2 separate regions of the Homo sapiens genome follow, and region 1 is linked to region 2. The links are contacts of gene promoters, found by promoter capture Hi-C in human tissues and cell types (Jung and others, 2019). All regions are on one chromosome and are shown on one strand. Each heading gives the region's core, a stretch centred on a gene start or on the middle of the fragment in contact. The rest is flanking DNA. Distances are from core to core; before and after follow the strand shown. Region 1 overlaps KLB (klotho beta). Region 2 holds the start of PDS5A (PDS5 cohesin associated factor A).

Region 1 (3,414 bases), core at 474-2,973, 560 kb after region 2:
AATATTTTAGTAAACAATAGTACATAATGATACTTAGATATGTATAGATATGTATACAAACAGAAAACCAGAAAAATAGAACATAAAGTGACACATAAAAAACCAAACTTTGGACAGGCGCAGTGGCTCACGCCTGTAATCTCAACACTTTGAGAGGCCGAGGCGGGTCTATCACCCAAGGCCCAGAGTTCGAGACCAGCCTGGCCAACATGGTGAAACCCCGTCTCTACTAAAAATACAAAAATTAGCCGTGAGTGGTGGCACATTCCTGTAATCCCAGCTACTTGGGAGGCTGAGGCAGGAGAATCACTCCTTCTCAAAAAACAAACCAAAAAACCCAACCCCCACCAAACTTTGTGAAACACAATGTTATAGCATCAAAAATGGATAAACGTTGCTTATATAACATTTTGTTTGAATAGTTGAATTTTGCTTTTTTTTTTTTTTTTTTTCCTGAGACAGAGTCTTGCTCTGTTACCCAGGCTAGAGTGCAGTGGCATGATCTTGGCTCACTGCAACCTCCGCCTCCCGGGTTCAAGCAATTCTCCTGCCTCAGCCTCCCGAGTAGCTGGGATTACAGGCACCCACCATCGCGCCTGGCTAATTTTTGTATTTTTAGTAGAGATGGGGTTTCACCATGTTGGCCAGGCTGGTCTCGAACTCCTGACCTCGTGATGTGCCCACCTTGGCCTCTCAAAGTGTTGGGATTACAGGTGTGAGCCACCACACCTGGCCGAATTTTGCTTTTTAAAAAAGGAAAAGCTTTTTTAAAAAGTAAGATTAGTGTTTTGTTCATGAATGGTTAATATAAGAAAATATTAATGGTTAAGAAATAACTAATGCTTAATATAAGAAAAATGGTTTGGGGCAGCTCTTTCAAGTATTTCACAAATAAGGCAAAGCCAGGAGGGACAGTCTTTATTCTCGATATGTGAAAAGCCAAACTAGATGTAATCATGTTGATGATTAAATATTATTTCCTCTTTTAACATTTTAAAAGCACTGTTTTTTTTTTTTTTCTAAAAACAGTATAGGCTGTACATTAATTTTGAGTTTCTGTATGCAACTTACAGATCTGGTGAAGATCTCCTTGAGGCAATTGTGTAAAATAATCATTTTTATGCCCCTCATACTGGTTACATGTCAATGTCCTTGTTCTTTGTGCTTCATGTCTTTAACCAGTTGTCTACTATAGAATAAGTCAGTGGTTTTCAAAGGTGGAGTGAGGGGGAGGAATTTTGACTTCCTGGGGACATTTGGCAAGGTCTGGAGACATTTTTGATTGTCACAACACTGAAAATGGGGGAGCTACTGTCATCTAGTGAGTAGAGTTTAGATGCTGCTGAACTCCTCCATTGCACAGGACAGCCTACCACAGCAAAGAATTATCTGACCCCAAATGTCAATAGTGACCAGGTTTGAGAAATCTTTGTACTATGTAAACAGTATTTATCTATGAAAGATAACATTTTCCCCCTAACCCAATGTGACTAGTAAAAGACAAAGATTTTTAAAGTCATGAAATGGTCAAAACTGTCATGAAAGCTGGCAGTATTTTTTGTTTTATTTTATTTTATTTTATTTATTTTTTTTTTTTCCTGAGACAGGTTTTTGCTGTGTCACCCAGGCTGGAGTGCAGTGGCACAATCATAGCTCCTTGCAGCCTTGACCTCCCGGGCTTAAGTGATCTTCCCACCTCATCCTCCCAAGTAGCTGGGACTACAGGTATGTGCCACCACTCTCAGCTGATTTTTTATTTTTTGTAGAGACAAGGTTTGTCTTGTCTCTACAAAACTATGTTGCTCAGGTTAGTCTTGAACTCCTGGGCTCAAGGGATCTTCTTCCCTCGGTTTCCCAAAGTGCTAGGATTACAGGCAGGAGCAACTCTGCCCCGCTTTGGCAATATTTAGTGGAGTAATAAACAGAATGAGTTATTGTCTCATGAGCAAATTCACCTTCCCAAACCTCTGTGCATGTTTACTCAGAGACTCTCAAATGTTCCATTCTAAAAGGGAAATGTACAAATTTAAATTATTACATGTATTTATTGATTTAAAAATAGAATGAAAACAGACATTACTGCCTTTACTAATGTGAACCCTTGGGGCTTTGCTGCATAGGCCAAATACATTTCTGGGATTGAAAAAACTAAACTTGGGAGAGAGAAATCTTTCCTCTACAAAGGAGAAGATGACACAACCCGAGGAAGAAATGGACGTGAGAGGCTGAAATAAAGGGCCTTCCTGGTCACTGAGCCCATTCATCCCTGTGGTCTGGTTACTGAGCCAGGAAATTGCCCCTTTTTGCTTTAGCCAATTTGAATTAGATTTCTGTAACTTGCCACCAAAAAAGTCCTGACTAATATACCACCCGATTAATATCAGTAATATTTCGACAGTTTGCAATAATGCAATGAAATATGAAGATTGAACTTGAGATTAGTTTTTGATTACAGTATTTAAGACAGAAATCCTAAACCATTCATTTAACCAACATTTACACCTAATATGTACAAATATTCTGTGCTAGGTGCTGAGAACATAAAGGCAAATTTAAAAATTGTCTCTCCTTTGAAAGAACTCTCAGTCTAGCTGGGGAGATGGAAAAGTATCATGTCGTATGAGTGCTATGCTAGAAACAAGCCCATCTTATGGGAGCCAGCAGAAGGGGCACTTAAATCCTAAAGGGGCAAGAATGACTTGGAGGCAGTGACCATCACGAAGTAAAGAGGGCATTTGAGCTAGACAGAGTGGGATAGTTGAGGCTGGGTGGAGAGAAATAGTAAGGAGAGACTGAGACACTGGCAGTAGTGTGTTATGATCGAATATGAAGTGCAAGAGGATGGGAGAGTGGCCAGGAAGGAGGCTGGGAACTGTATCTCAAAGGTCTTGGTGAAAAATTGAGACTTTATCCCCAAAGCTTGGGGGGGCCACTAATGGATTTTACACAGGGGAGCAATATCACGCATATTCAAAATATCACACTGTAAGATGAGGATAATAGTTACCTGGCAAGATTGTTGTAAAGAGTATAGATAATATTTATTTATTTATGTCCTTTTGGAATGTAAATGTTCATAATATTTCTCTTTTTAAAAATATTTTTAAAATTTCAATAGTTTTGGGGTACAAGTGGTTTTTGGTTACACGGATGAATTGTATAACGGTGAAGTCTGAGATTTTAGTGTACTCATCACCAGAGGAGTATACATTGTATCCAATATGCAGTTTTTTTATCCCTTACTCCTCTCCCAGCTTCCCTGTTCTGAGTCTCCAAAGTTGATTATATCCTTCTGTATGTAGGTATATATCATTCTGTATATATAGTCCATTGTATCATTCTTATATAGTGGGAGCTAAGCTATGGGTATGCAGATGCATACATAAGCTCAGTATACCCATAGCTTAGCTCCCA
Region 2 (3,552 bases), core at 618-3,117:
CTGGGCGACAAAGTGAGACTTCATCTCAAAAAATAATAAAATAATATAAAAAATAAATAAAATAAAATATATGTACATATACAAAACTCCATTTAATAATGGGCAAGCTACTGAGGAGGATGAAAGATAAAATCATTGTTGTTTAATTAAATGTAACACACAAAGAAATATCAAATTTGGCCGGGCGCGGTGGCTCATGCCTGTAATCCCAGCACTCTGGGAGGCCGAGGCGGGCGGATCACTAGCTCAGGAGATCGAGACCATCCTGGCTAACATGGTGAAACCCCGTCTCTACTAAAAATACAAAAAAAAAAAATTAGCCGGGCGTGGTGGCGGGCGCCTGTAGTCCCAGCTACTCGGAAGACTGAGGCAGGAGAATGGCGTGAACCCGGGAGGCAGAGCTTGCAGTGAGCCGATATCACGCCACTGCACTCCAGCCTGGGTGACAGAGTAAGATTCCGTCTCAAAAGAAAAAAATAAATATCAAAAGTGACAGGGAGAGCCTAAAAAGAGAGCAGCTTTTGGTCCACTTAATAGTTTGGATGAGGACACTTTTAAATGGATTCTGCCTGGTACTGTAAATGCCCAAGAACAAAGCATTGACTTTTGGGCAGAGTTCTAGCAAATCAGCAACTGTGGAGTGTCAGATTCGCAATGACTGCTCTTGTGTAATACGTCAAAAACAAGTCAGTGAGCTGAAATGCAGTACCTTTACTATTTTTAAGTTGACGTTAAAGGATGTGGGAAAAAAATAGACCAATGGGTACCCATCAAGAATAATTTGAATAAACAATCGAATATCATTTTAAACTATGGTAGTGGTCAGTTTCAAGAGCTGAATGTGATTTCATATTATCGTATCCTTTTTTCAACTTTCTCTTCGGAAATTTTGTGTATGCTCTTGATTTTTTTTAAATAGGTAAGTGTATGTTCTTGCGTTAATTTGTTTCAATTACATACATTAAATTGCTCAAACACTGCTGCGTGCACTGTTTTTACCTGATAGTGGTTTTCCTTTGGATGACAGAAAACGTTAATGCTTGGTAGGTTTAAAACATTTTTAAAAAATGAGCTCTTCCTTATTTACAAGAATCACCCACCCAATTAATAAATGCTTATTTCTGGGTTCCACTCTCAGAGATTTTTATGTTTATGTATATTTTTATATTTTTTAGTGTTTTATTTTATATGTTATATTTTTATATGTTTTATGTTCATATATATTTTTACGTTAAAAAAACATATATTTTTATGTTTTTTAATCTTTGGAGTTGGAAACCTACGTTTTCAGCCAGTACCCAAAGTGATTGTGAGGCCTGGTGGCCCAAAGACCATACCTTGAGAACGACTCGACCCAATGCTATTTTCATGTTTTGCAGCTTTCAAAATATTAACTTCAGAAATCTAAGGAGGGTGGGCAACTCGGGTGGCTGTCAGAAGACCCGAGAGTGAGCCGCTCACGCTGCGCCCCATTGCACAACTTTCCTTGACTTTGCAGATCTCTCCCTGAGGAGGAAATCAGTTCATTTTCACCGAGCAATTAACTACCTCCCAACCAGTTTCGTCTATGTCCCTCAGGATGACCCCCAAAAGTCACCAGCTCATCGCCGCTGCGAAAGATAAAGCACTGTTTGCCCTGCGTGCCCTCGCAAGGCCGCGGGAACCTGGGCTCGCTTCCCGCCACCCGGGCTCCTCCTCCTCTCGCCCTCTCCGGTCGGGTCCTCCGGGAGGCGCCCCGCGCGGCAGGTATTGGCGCCAACCGGGTGGCGGCGCTGTCCGCCCTGCGCGCGGCCGCCTCGGGCCCGAGGGAGGCGGATGCACGGCCGGCGGAGGAAGGGGAGGGAGCGAGGAGCGCGCGCTGCTCTCGCGTGCTCTCGCGCCGCTCGCGTGACCGGCCGGTGTGTGCGCGAGGCCCCGGCTCCCGGGGCACGGACGGCCGGGCGCGCGCCTCTGCGAGGGGCGTCCGGGTCCGAGTCGGCGGTCCGGGCCGGCGCGAGGTGCGTGCGGGCGGGCCGCGGGGGTCCCGGACGGACACAAGCGCACACACTCCCGGAGGAGCCTTCGAGGCTGCTCTTCCTCGGCCAGACGGAGAGCGGCACTGTCTCCCCGCCCAGCGCTCACTCGCCCCGCGTCTCCCCCCGCGGCGGCTGCTCCTCCTCGGCACCGCCAGCCCCAGCGCCGCTCCCGGGCGGGCGGGCGGCGGCGGCGGCGGCGGCGGGACCCGCGGAGCCGCTTTGTGTGCAGCCCGACTAGGGGCGGCGGCGCAACCACCTGACAGAGGCCCGGGCGCTCGATGCACCTTCCGCCCGCATGAGGAGGAGGTAAAGGCGGCGGCGGCTCGGCTCCCGCCCTAGGCTGCTGGAGGGAGGGGACGGAAGGGGAGACTGGAGGGGGGGGCCGCGGGTCCGAGGCCCGGTGGGGCCGCCCGAGGGTGCCGGGAAGGCCTCGGCGGTGCCGGAGGCGCCAAGCGGCCGGGGGCCAGAGAAGCAGCTGGGGTCCCTCAGCCGAAGTTGAAGGAACAAAATGTGAAGTGCGGAGGCGCGTCAGCCGCTTCCTGGCGTGGGGCTGAGGGTGGAGGGCGGCTTGTTTTCCCCTCCCGCGGGGGTGAGGGAGCGGAACAGGGGAGGGGTGGCAGCGCGGCGGGGACTACCCCGGGTCCGAGGCTCGGCTGGGCAAGGGCGTTTTGTTCCCGGCAGCCGCCGCTGCGCGTGGGTCCGCTGGGTCCCTAGTTTTGCGGCCTAAGCCGAGCCCTATAGGCCTCGGGTCTGGTTTCCCGGAGGGGACTGGCCGGGCGGGACTGGGTGCTTCCCCACCGCCGAGCGGGGGCCTTGGGGTCCTTGCCGGCCTCCCGGGGCCGCCAAACTTCGGACCCTGGTGCTCGGGGGTGGATTTCATTGTGAAAGGCGGAATGGGAAACTCCTGGCGCTGTTCGGCGGCCACGGCGGCTGGTGCGGAGGAGCCCCGTGAGCCTGGGGCTGGCAGGGCCGGGTTGGCGGGGCCGGCGGGGTTCGATCCCTGGGAAAGAGCGGGTGGCGAGGCCGCTGCCGGGTCCCCGGCCTCTGGGGAGACAGGGCCTTTTCCAGATTAGAGAGATTTGAAATGAAAAAAGAGGTTACAAAGTCGCCCCTTTCCCGCTGAACTTTGGTTTTCTGACCGATAGAGGCCGGTAGAGGACTGTGAACCAAAAGTTGTCCCCCAGGATGGACTTCACCGCGCAGCCCAAGCCTGCCACTGCCCTCTGTGGCGTCGTGAGTGCCGACGGGAAGATCGCTTACCCTCCGGGGGTAAAAGAGATCACCGACAAGATCACCACGGACGAGATGATCAAACGCCTGAAGGTAAGTGTCTGGACGGATTTTGATGTCTTTGGTAGAAGGCGCTTTCTCCTGTGATACTGCTACCCTGCTCAGTCTGGCCTTTAAAGTTCCAAGTTTTTTAGATCTCTTACCCCCTCTGAAAGGTACTGTTGTATCTCAGATAACATCTTTGAGTGAGTTTTGTAGGGATATAACCATTGTGGGAAATTTAAAAGGAGTGTGATTTTTCAAAAAC

What was found. The method cuts DNA at HindIII sites, captures the fragments that hold promoters and counts their contacts. A contact is called where the count stands out against the background at its distance.
Region 1: a fragment that was not itself captured here is called in contact with the fragment with the promoter of PDS5A in region 2 in 1 of the 25 tissues and cell types used here (dorsolateral prefrontal cortex).

The regions. Positions count from the first base shown.
Region 1 is chr4:39,411,910-39,415,323 of GRCh38, reverse strand. All of the region lies in intron 1 of KLB (klotho beta), which reads right to left. It overlaps MIR5591 (microRNA 5591), which reads right to left and starts at 3,414; the gene lies at 3,350-3,414. The HindIII fragment of the contact is 4,557 bases long and covers 1-3,414 here.
Region 2 is chr4:39,976,226-39,979,777 of GRCh38, reverse strand. PDS5A (PDS5 cohesin associated factor A) reads left to right here and starts at 1,867. Exons shown (of 33, transcript NM_001100399.2): 1 at 1,867-2,321; 2 at 3,161-3,338. The coding sequence starts at 3,201. RefSeq lists silencers at 1,643-2,282, 2,333-3,082 and an enhancer at 2,620-3,528. The HindIII fragment of the contact is 8,894 bases long and covers 1-3,552 here.